Linked DNA regions of Homo sapiens: region 1 is linked to region 2. Evidence: promoter capture Hi-C in human tissues and cell types (Jung and others, 2019). All regions are on one chromosome and are shown on one strand. Each heading gives the region's core, a stretch centred on a gene start or on the middle of the fragment in contact. The rest is flanking DNA. Distances are from core to core; before and after follow the strand shown.

The links. Contacts are between HindIII fragments. The study calls those that stand out against the background at their distance.
Region 1: a contact is called between a fragment that was not itself captured here and the fragment with the promoter of HS1BP3 in region 2, in 1 of the 25 tissues and cell types used here (hippocampus).

The regions. Positions count from the first base shown.
Region 1 is chr2:20,516,498-20,522,216 of GRCh38, reverse strand. No RefSeq gene overlaps it. Among named protein-coding and RNA genes, the nearest start is that of RHOB, 72 kb to the right of the region's middle. RefSeq lists silencers at 4,735-4,834, 4,845-4,894, 4,925-4,974. The HindIII fragment of the contact is 6,182 bases long and covers 852-5,719 here.
Region 2 is chr2:20,648,572-20,654,291 of GRCh38, reverse strand. It overlaps HS1BP3 (HCLS1 binding protein 3), which reads left to right and starts at 3,194. Exons shown (of 7, transcript NM_022460.4): 1 at 3,194-3,260. The coding sequence starts at 3,229. It overlaps LOC105373466 (a long non-coding RNA gene), which reads right to left and starts at 3,010. Exons shown (of 2, transcript XR_001739320.2): 1 at 2,940-3,010; 2 at 2,092-2,317. RefSeq lists enhancers at 2,776-3,513, 3,598-3,747, 3,768-3,847 and a silencer at 2,928-3,517. The HindIII fragment of the contact is 7,709 bases long and covers 1-4,872 here.

The DNA.
Region 1 (5,719 bases), core at 2,693-5,192, 130 kb after region 2:
GAGGAGCCTTGCTCTGTTTCTGAGGAAAGGAGTGACTCGATCCGATTCCTGAATAGCTTGGGAGAACTGGGGCTCCCACCTATGCTGTTCCCCATGCCCTCCCCTCAGATGGCTGTCCCCTGCTCGTTCCTTTGTCAATGAGATGGGGGCTTAAACCAGAAGTGACCTTGAGTCCTGCACAGCACAAGCCATGGCAGACTAGCTTCCAGGAGGAGAGAGCCTGTGGCCCAGGCTGCGGCAAGCCCTCCCCGACCCGCAGTCTGCAGGACTTGCTCCATCCTAGCAGAGAGTGACTTTCTCAGGGAGGTGGCTCAAGGCCACTTGGACATACTAACCAGGGCCGGTGTCAAATGGGTAGAGACGAGCCTGGAAGGAGCTAAGAGAACTGATGAACTTTTCCACTGCCGTTTGCTCCAGCAAGCAGGTGGAACTGAGGCTGGTGGAGATGCAGGGCAGGGGGTGCAGGGACCATTTGATAGCAATAAAACGCACTTAAATACATTGCACGGTGTGTTAGTAGCCTGTGGCTGCTGTGACAGATAACCACAAACCGAGTGGCTTAAAACAACAGAAATTTATTCTCACAACTCTGGAGGCCAGAAGTCCAAAATCAAGGTGCTGGGAGCACCTTACTCCCACAGAGCTCCAGGGAAGAATCCTTCCTTGACTCTTCCAGCATCTGGTGGCTTCAGGAGGTCTTTGGCTCATGACTGCAGACCTCTAATCTTACCTCTGTCTTCACATAACCGTCTCTTCTCTGTGTCTTTTTTTTCTTCTGTCTAAGGACACTTGTCTTTAGATTTAGGGCCCATCTGGATATTCCTAGATGACGTCATCTCAAGATCCATGACTTAATTACATCTGCAAAGACTCTTTTTCTTTTTTATTTGAGACAGGGTCTCGCTCTGTTGCCCAGGCTAGAGTCCAGTGGTGCAATCTCGGCCCACTGCAACCTCCATCTCCCAGGCTCAAGAGATCCTCTCACCTCAGCCTCTTGAGAAGCTGGGGCCACAGGTGTATGCCACCACTCCAGGCTATTTAGAGATGGGGTCTCAGCATGTTGGCCAGGCTGGTCTTGAACTCCTGAGCTCAAGCAGTCTGCTCACTTCGGCCTCCCAAAGTGCTGGGATTATAGGTCTGAGCCACTGTGTCAGGCCTAAAGATCGTTTTTCTAAATAAGATCGTATTCACAGGTTCTGGGGCTTAGGAAAGGGACATATCTTTTTGGGGACCACCATGCAACCCACCACATACATAGGCTTTGGAATCAGCGAGAGTCAGGCTGAAAACCTGTCTTAACTACTTACTTGTTGGTCTTGGGCAAGTTTAATAATCTCCCTGAACCTCCTTTCTTTGTGCTTAAAATAGGAGTAATGATATCTATTCATACAGTTGCTATGAGAATCAAATGAGAGATGGCTGCTTGGCATACAGTGCACACTCAGTGAATGGTATCGATGACAATGATGACAATGACAATGATGATGACAAATTGACTCAGAGAAGTGAAGAGATTTGCACAAGGTGGCACAGCTTTAAGTGGCAGAGCCAGAGTTGGAACTCAGATCTACCTCCCACCAAGGCCATCCTCTTCCCATATGACCTGTCTCCTTGCTATCTCTGTGGTAGTTGCAGCCTTGCTATGTTGGCTTGTTCCTCAACGGCATCTTATGCTGGTCTGACGTATCCCAGAGACTGTGGAGTGAACCACATCTTCCAGTGGAGTGAATAGTTGACTTTTGTCCCCAAACAGTGATATCAGGATCAGAACTTGGCCTCGAGTTGTTCCACGGGCAAGAGGGGACATCAGGCTCTGGCCTCCCCTTGGGTAGGAAGCTACTGGTCACAGCATCACTGTTAGGGGGTCACTGACCATTTGCCACGTGGCGGGCATGAGATGCGCTCTTTCCAAGTGCTATCCCACCAAGCCTGCCCCATCCCTGTGGGAGAGGGACAGCATCCCATGTGGGGTTTAACGCAAGGAAACGAGGCTTTCTCTGCATTCAGGGCAGCAGCCTCATCTTGGATTATACGGTGCCACTGGCCCACCGTGAAAGAACTGGTGTCTGCAAAATAACGGCAGGATTAATTCCTCCATCTCTGAATCCTTTCAAAACCCGATCCGCCCTTCCCCTAAAAAAGATCCAACTGACTTTGATCTTGAAAGCCCCTGCCATTCCGATTTCCTGTGCTATCTGCATGGCTTTAACCAGAGGGCATTGTTGCTAGTGCAGTTGCTACTTACAGTGTTGCTGGGCTTGTTCTGAACCCTGGGGAAGAGAGGACATGGGCTTGGGCTTCCATCTTTGGTGGGATAATGGCCTAATACATTCCGAGTCCCGGTGGAGGCTGCTGCTGATCCCTGGGGAGGGGTCTGGTCCTGGCTTCTCCAGGACTGTGCCTGAGGTGCCAAGGCAGAGACAGGCCTTGACTGGGGCCTGGCTGGATCCTGAGGAAGCTCATTAAGGAACAAATTTATTACCTAAAAAGAAAATTGGTGGAAGGGGTAAGAAGTGGAAAGGACAATAATGTTTCCCTTCTAGTGAAACATGGAACAGTCCTGGCAGCAGGAAATGGGAAAAAAGCAAAGCTGAATGAGTGGGCATCATAGCAGGAAGCGGGATGAGGAGGGAGGCAGAAAGGCTTCCTGCCAAGGTGACTTCCAGGTACAAAGCCCTCCAGCCACAGGAGGTGCAGAGCTGTGTCCTCTCCTCCAGGGGGTTCTCAGAGACACAAGGCTTAGGTGGAGGGAGCAGGAGCCCGCCCTATCTGTCAATCAGCAAACTTTCACCAGATGCCCTGTTTGTGGCCAGCACTGCGCTACCCCAGGAGACAGGAATTGTCAACCCCCAGGCCCCACCATCTAATATCCAGGGCCACTTTTCTTTGTCCATTCTCCTCTTCCTCACTTTCCATCCTGGCCAAGTCCAAACTCAGCCCAACTCAATGGCCAACCTGACAATGGTTCAAGAATGGGGACAGCTCCTTCTCCCTGGGCCTGCCCACATCTGAGACCATTCTTGAGCCCCTCTTTACTGAGATGGTATACTTGGCTGCAGCAGTCAACAAAGGGGGTTCAGGCAGGGCTCCCTCTCTGTGGCAGTTGCTTAATTGGCCCATCACACCAGGCTCTTCCATGGGCACAGGCCAGGATAGGGGTTCTCCTGCCATGGGGATCAGTGAGGATAAGGCATCTGTCTTAGTCTGTTTTTACTGCTTTAACAAAACACCTTAGGCTGAGTAATGTGTAAAGAACAGAAATTTATTTCTTATAGTTGTGGAGGCTGGGAAGTCCAAGATCAAGGCACCAACAGAGAGGTGAGGAAGCTCTCTGTTTTCAAGATGGTGCCTAGTTGCTGTGTCCTCACATGGAAGGAAGATGGTGGAAGAGACTCCCTTCAACCTCAAGTCCTTTTACAAGGGTGTTAATGCCATTCATGAAGGCACAGCCCTCATGATTTAATTACCTCCTAGAGGCCACAAACCTTAATACTGTTGCATCAGGGATTAAGTGCCAATATCAATTTTGGAGGAGAGACCATTACTCAAATCATAGCAGCATCGTTTGCCATTGGATACTCATTGTCCCCCTTATGATCTGAGAAACATTTTAGTCTTTGGAGAAAGGGGACCATTGTTAATGGTGCTCCAAGGCAGAAGACCTAAGATTCCTTGTAAAATGTTGATCTCAGAAGTTCATTTCACTCTTAAATCATTTCAAAAACTCCCATTCTTCCCAGGATAGCCTGGTCTTCTCAGTGTAGCTTACAAGCCCCAGCACAATCCACCCTTTGCCACTCCAACAGAACCCTGCCACTCCACGTGCTCCCTGTCCCCGCTGCAAGCTTGAATCAATTGCTGAATTCTGAGTAGGCCATGCTTGTTGGTTCTAATGCACCTTTGCACAAGCTGTTCCCATCCCCACAACACTCACATCCTTGTCTGTCTAAAAAACTTTTTTTCATCTTCAAACACTCAACTCAAACTTTAGCTCTTCAATAATGTAGTAGAGGATGCTCATGGATGGAGGCCTAGAATGGAGTGTCCCTTTGGAGCTTTGTATCTCGACTTCTGTAAAATTATTAGAGGTAATCAGGGAAATAAATAGGCCAGGCACGGTGGCTTACGCCTGTAATCCCAACACTTTGGGAGGCCGAGGTGGGTGGATCGCCTGAGGTCAGCAGTTCGAGACCAGCCTAGCCAACATGGTGAAACCCTGCCTCTACTAAAAATGCAAAAAAAAAAAAATTAGCTGGGCGTCATGGGGCATGCCTGTAGTCCCAGCTACTCCAGAGACTGAGGCAGGAGGACCGCTTGAACCTAGGAGGCGGAGGTTGCAGTGAGCCTAGATTACACCACTGCACTCCAGCCTGGGTGACAGAGTGAGACTTCGTCTCAAAAAAATAAAAATAAAGAAATACATAATAAATGAACCTAAGTGTGTTTAATTGTCCAAGTCCAAGGTAAGTGCTCCAAATGTACACATACTTAAAGTATAAGTGTATTAAACTGTTAAAGGGGTGGCATGCAGAGCACAGATGTTTGAGTCTCTCCATCCAAAAAACAAAAGAACAAAAAGTAACAATTATTAAGGCATTTAAATAAAGTACCCCATAAGCAGGTGCCTAGGCTGTCCACTGATTGACCCCCATATGGGGGTGAGGAGGAGAGACCCAAATGTTTCTGGGGTGCTGGGACCATTCTAAAATCCACTGACCAGGATGCTCTAGGAAAATGAGTGGCGTCCACAGTCCCCTGCTTGATGTTTGGCTTTACTGGGTGGGGTGAGGGCCTAGAAGCTGGTGGGAATGGGGGTGTTAACAGTGAAGGCCTTTCCTGAAGAAGGCAGAGGGTCTCTCTAGCTTCTTTCCCTCCAAACAGCACTCCCCACCCTCCCGCCCTGCCCTGCCCTGGTGTTCCTGCCAGGCCCGCAATGAGAGCTGCTCATTGGCCTCCTTCTCTGGCTCTGCACTGAGCCAAGAAGGATCGGTCAGGCTTGCAGCTGAAGGGGAAACAAAAGCTGTTTTCATGAAAGACGGTATTGATTCTGTTTTTAAAAAGGACGAAACCCCACTTCTGAAATGAGTCACTGTGGGAAGGATTTGAAATGTGACATTTTTCTTTTCATCTCTTCCTTTCCTTCTGAAATTTCAAAGTTGAGCCTGGTAATGGAAGTAGGTAAAGATTTAACCAAGTAAGCCTTTAGGACATTCCTTCCCGCTCCCCCGCCCTTTATTTATTAACTCTCAAGAACCATGTGGCACAAACAAAAGTGCTTGAGGTCTGAGTGCCAAAAGACCTGGATTGAGGTCCCAGGTTCACACGACCTGGAGGCTTTCTTCCTCCATGGGGCACCTGCAGTATCTCTGGGGGTGCCCAGCCCTTCTGGGGTCTCCAGCAAGCACCCTGATTCTGACCCATGCAGGGGACAGGCAGTGAGCAGGATGACAGGCTTGCCTGGCTGAGGAAGCCAGCCCATGGCACCTGCTCATGCCAGGAGGCACATCTAAGATGCCCCGCAGCTCCACAGACCACTTCAGCCAGCTGGGGATGCGGAGGAGAACAGAGTGGCCTCCTCCCCCGAGCTGTGTTTGTGGGGCTGTTTGATGTTTCCCTAAATAGGTATCAGATTGAACATTTTGAAAGATCCCACCTTATGTAAGTGTTACCCTCTAAAATAGAAACTCTACTTCATATTATTTTCAGCTTTCTATGAAAT
Region 2 (5,720 bases), core at 1,945-4,444:
CCAGTGAGAAAATCAAGTCTCAAAAAAATAATACCTACTTTTTACAACCCAGGTCTGCCATCACCTCCTCCTGGCAGAATTCTTTGTATGCCCAACCCTAGGCTGAGTTAGTTATGTGCCCTCCTCTGTGCACCATAGCACCCTAGGCGTGCATCCTTGTTGAAATCTCCAGCTGTCCTAGAGTGGCCTGTGAGCCCCTGCAGTGGGCTGTGAGCCCCACAGGATAAGGCTCTGTAGCCCCCAGGCCTGGGGAGATAACAGGCCTGGAGCTGTACCTATGAGTGTTTGCTGAGTGACAAGCAAGGTGGTGGCCCTGCTCCATGTGGATGTGCCCAGACCCTGGAGCTCTAAAGTATCACATTAGGGAACAGAGACAAATTATAAGGTCCCAGAAGACCCGAGCCACCATGGGAAACGTTGGTGCATGGCTCAGCCAGAGTTCAGAGCACCCCCTGCAGGCTGCGGGTGTCTCTCAGTGACCACAGTGTCCTGAGGCCCAGTGACTTCCTGGGTGGAAACTGAGGCCTGGAGTGTTCCTCCCAGGGCAGTGAGAAAGAGAGAAATAGAAAATCCTTTGCAATGTGGTTTGTGTTACCGCAGCTTCAGCCATGGAAGGGGCTCCTTGAATTAAACAGGAAGCAGAAAATATCAGATTTAGATCCCACATTCCATGCATTGTATACAATTACGCGCTGGAGCCATAGAGGGGCACGTGGGACCCACAGAGGCAGAAAATGGGATTGCTGTTGGGAATGGGGTCGTTCTTTCATGGGAAACCAGTTGCATTCTTGACAGGTGGGCCGAGTCTTCCTGAGGTGCACACTTCACAACCCCAGGGGCACAGGTGAGGCCCTCTCATTTGCTTACAAGGCATTGGTGACAGACATGCTACCAGCTCCCACAATGATGGAGAGTCCCCTTCTCTGCAGCCCCCCAACACCGCTGCATATCTCTGGATTGTAGACCATCCTTGGTGGGCTCACCCCAACTCTCAGGCTCAACAGCCTCCTTTTTACCCATGACTCCTATGTCAGTCTCCAGCCCAGGTCGGCTTCCTGAGGCCCAGGGCCATAAACCCAATCGCATCAATAGGTCCAGCCCTTCAAACACTGCCTGTCTGAAACAGAACCCATCATCCTACCAAAAATATGCTCCTTCTCCAGGTGCCCTGCCACAGAGAATGATACCAATGTCCAGCCACTCACAAGAGCCAAACCATAGTGGTATCTTATCTCTTCCCGCCCACACCCATTGGATTCCCAAGTCTTGACCAACTCCTTCTCCTAAGGCCCTCTTACCCGTCCCCTCTTCTCCACCTGGGTGGCCATCACCCTAGTTCATGGGACCATTGTCTCTTGTCTGGATTGTTCTGCAGTCCAGCTCATCTTCATACCTTCAACATGCTCCAAAACCCTGCCCACGCCCTAGCTGGCCCAGCCACTCCTATGTCCCTGACCCTCTGATGGCGCTGTGTTGGCCTCAGGATCAGGCAAAGCCCTGGCCTTGGTGCACTAGGCTGTCCACACCCTGGCTCCTGCTGGCCTCTTCCCCCTGTTCCCTGGTGTTCCTATCCTGTCGCTAGGGCTTTGCACGTGACATTCCTTCTAATCTATTCTATCCATATTTCTTCAGGTTTTCCCTTGGACTTCAGCTCCTTTAGAAAGCCTTTCCAGACCCCCACCCACTCCCCATGTAGGAGGGCAAAGAAGTCCACTGAAGGCATCTAAAGTGTCTTATTCACTGTGTTTCTGTCTGTTGGATAAATGTGAGTGCAATGGTGACTGCTCGACTGCCTGGCACTACACTCAGACTCCTGGAATGCTGAAGCCTATACTGCTTTCTGTCCAGACCCTGAACTCCCTTTCTCTAAAGTAGGGCATGCCAATTTAAACAAAACACGGAGGACCATTTGCAGCCATGAACACGGCCCTGCAGACGGACAGGCCGATGAGCAGCAGAGCAGACAGGGGTTCCCGCCATCATCCCAGCTCTTCACTGCAGCCTTCAAGGGTCTCCCTCAGAACTTTCATTCATTGTCATACTTCATTCATGATTGCTCATCTTGCCTATAAACAAATCTGAGACAAATAATAAGGCATATCAATGTCCGTATTTATTCAAGAGATACATTGGGGAAAGTCATTTTTCAAAATCTTTTACTGTAGGATTTCTTCACTAAAATCTGTAAAAACTGGTAGATATTGTTGGTGATGCTGGTGGCGGTGGTTGATAGGCTCAGGAAACATGGCTGACATCGCCCTGCCGTGAATTCTGGTATAGTTAAGCCCAGCTTCTCTTTCTTTTTGTCACTGGGGCTCTGGGTGGAGGGAGTAACAGAACAGGGGCAGCAGTTTGCACCTTCTGCTGGCCCTGTTTGCAGACTCAGCTTTTCTTTCCCTGGGCTACGTTGGCAGGTGATACGATCTCTCTGTTCCTCACCCCATGGAGAGGTGAATCTAAAATGAGTGGGTCTGTTAGGGTCTGCATGTCTGTACGTTCCCCTTCTGAGGGGAACTGGCTCCTGGACCCCGTTGCCCTGCTCCAGCTGGGGACCCAAGTGCAGCCATCCCAGGCAGGCCCGGCCCCGGGAGGCCTCCACCAGGGCTCTGCCAAGCAGCAGAGGCTGCCTCTCTAAAGATCCCCTGTCGGGAGAGTGCCTGCCATTTATGGAGCGGGCAGGCAGTAGGAACCAGATAGGCGAGCTAGCTGGAGGCAGCAAGCTCAAGGGGACTGGGCTGCTGCGTGGCGTTCACTGTGCAGCTTGAAGAAGACCCCACGAAGCCTGGACAGAGCCCCAGCTTGGTAAATATTTGTTGACCGATCGGTTGAATGAAATGGTCTTGGGGCAGAGGGGGAGTGGTTTTGTAATGGGGACTGGCGGCGGAAACAGCAGAGTCCCGTCTCTCTAACGGCTAAACTTTAGCGCAAAACAGACACACCGATTAAGGTTCACCGTGTGCCAGGGCCAGGCTGGGCTTCTTCTAGGTGGTTGCGGCGGGCGCGGCTCAGCCTGGGTGCTCCGGAAGCTCCGAGCAGCGCAGGCCGACGGCGACCGTGCGGGACCCGCCCAGCCGCGCTTCCGCCCCGCCTCTGGCCACAGGCGCGAACTGCGCGGCCGCTGCCACCAGGGGGCAGGCCAGGGCAGCGGGAGGCAGGGCGGGGACGCGGTGACGCGGGCACTGCCGGGTCCCGTGACTGCGCGCCCCGCCCGGAGTCCCCGCCGCCGTCATGCAGTCCCCGGCGGTGCTCGTCACCTCCAGGTGAGCCAGACCCCCGCGCCCCACACCGCACAGCTCGCAGTCCGGGGCGCCCGGGCGGAGAGGCGGGGGGAGGCCGCCGCCTCCTAGGCCAGGGACCTGGTGCAGGTCTCCCCAGCGCCCTCGGTGGCTTATCCGGGCTGGGCCCCTGCACCGCCCTGCAGGAGAGGTGGCGACCCCGATTTACAGATGAGGAAACCGAGGCCCTCTGGAGGGTAGAGAACTAGCCAAGGACAGCGGGAGCCCTGGGACTGACTGGTTCAGTGCAGGCGGGCGCAGTGGGGACTCTGCTCTCCTTTCCTACCGCCTTGGGTTCTTCTCTTTTGAGCCCGAAAATCTAGTTCCCCATCCTTTCAGAGCTCCCTGAGTCCCAGGCCCGGTGCTGGGCACTGGGGACAGAGGCGAATCAGACAAGCTCGCCCTGCAGGGGGCTGCAGCGGAGAGGGGGTGATGCCAGCAGCGGGTAGTAAGCTCAGGTTGCCATGGGAACACAGTACAGGGCAGGAACCCGGTTTCTGGGAGGATGAGTTTGATGAGAGACCAGGGAGAGGTCGTTGCTGCTTGCGAGGCAGCTCAGGAGAGCGCAAGTTACAGCAAAAGCCTTGGAGGGGTCCAGGCGGAGGATGCAGAATGGGTCGGCCCTGATCGAGACCTGGAGGACCCAGCCCAAGGTGGATCCTGGCAAGGCTGGGAGGCACGTGCTTTTACTTCTTTCCGCCTTTAAAACGCTGTAAAGTGATTTACTTCAAATATTTTCATACACTTCACCCTTGCTCTCCCTACACAAAGTCTTAGGCTAAGATGCCAATTTATGACATAAATGAACGTGTTACCCAGCCAACTGTTGATCTTCCAGTTGTAATCAGGAATTCCCCGTGACTTCAGGTCTAGAAAGGTATGATTCCTTTTGTAAACCCTGATGTCGGAGGCTGCTTGGTCTTTCATGATCAAGTGTGGTTACAGTTGTATCTTCATGGGCAGAAGAGGTTTCCCTACTGCCACTTACGTCACCTCCTCTCACCAAGCCTCAGTTTCCTTTTCTGTGAATTGGAGGTTTCAGATTGGCAGGCATGAGCAACGTCAGTAGTATATGCCCCTCAGCCATGTGCAGATGGATGGGGTGTGACTTTGGTGCTGGGTGCTTGGGATGGGGTGGGTGGCTTCCCTCCCTGCCCCGCTGCACAGCCTGGACGTGGCTTGTTAACAGATGTGGGGGCGCTGGCGGTGGTAAGGCCACATGAGTCAGGCTCATTTCTTGCTGAGGGCACCAGCACACCCAAGGATCTTGCCTGCAGGGTGAGTCCAAACGCCTTAGCCCAGCAGCAAGGCCGGCCCTTCCCAGTCGCACCCCAGCTCCTCTTTCCAGCCCGATCTCCTCCCACATGTCATTGCCACATGCACTCAAGCTTGAATTCAGCCAGAAGGTGTTTATCGAGAGCCTTCTCTGTACCGGGTACTGGCCCTAGTTCTAGGAGACAAACAAGTCCCTCTCGTAGAGCTTTAATGAGGGCACAGGCCCAGTGGGCAAATCTACGACATGTCAGGGATGATACATGCTATGAAGGAAAACAAAACAGTGGGGGCAACAGAGTGGTAGGAGGCATGCATGCTGTTTTCTATGGTGTGGTAAAGAGGCATCTTTCTGATGGAGTGGCGCCTGGACAGATCCCGGACAAGCTCCATGAGGGAGAGAGCCATGAAAAAGAAATCTTGGAAAAGTGTGTACTGGGAGGACAGGACAGCAGGAGCCAGGGTCCCGAGGCTGGTATGCTGGAGTGGAGTGAGCCCAGGGAGAGTGTTAGGTGATGCGGTGAAGAGGCAAGCTTGGGAGTGAAGGATGATCAGGAAAGGCCGAGAAGGCTGTGGAGGGGCCATCAGATTTAATTTCAAGTGCAATAGGGCCCAACTTCTGGTTTATAGAGATCCTTTGGCTGCTATGCTGAGCATGGGCAGTGGCCGAGCTGAGCATTCAGGACAGGCTTGTAGGTTTCCATGTAGAGCCGGTGGTGGCTTGGCCCGGGGTGATGGCGGCCGTGAGGGTGAGAAATGTTTGGGTTCTCGATATATTTTGAAGATTGAGCTTTCAGGTTTGCTGATGCTTGGATATGGGGTGTGAGAACAAGAAGAGAAGTTAAGACTAACGGCAAGTCTCTCAGCCTAAGCTGCTGGAAGAATGAGGCTGCCCTTTAGCAGGCTTGGGGAGAGGTAGAAGCAGCATTTGTGTAGACAGGTGAGTTTTGAGAAGCTCGTTGACAGCCCAGTGGGGATGTCAGGCAGCTGCAGCTGGAAGGAGGCTGGCTGTGAGGGGAGAGTGAGCTAAAGATGGGAGTTGGGGAGCCATTGGCTCGGAAATGGTATTTAAAGCCTGGAGCCTGGATGAGATCACCTGGGGAGGGGTACAGTGAGAGGAAGAAGGAGGGTGCTCTGGATGCTATCAAGGGGAACCATCCAAAGCAGTTCCTC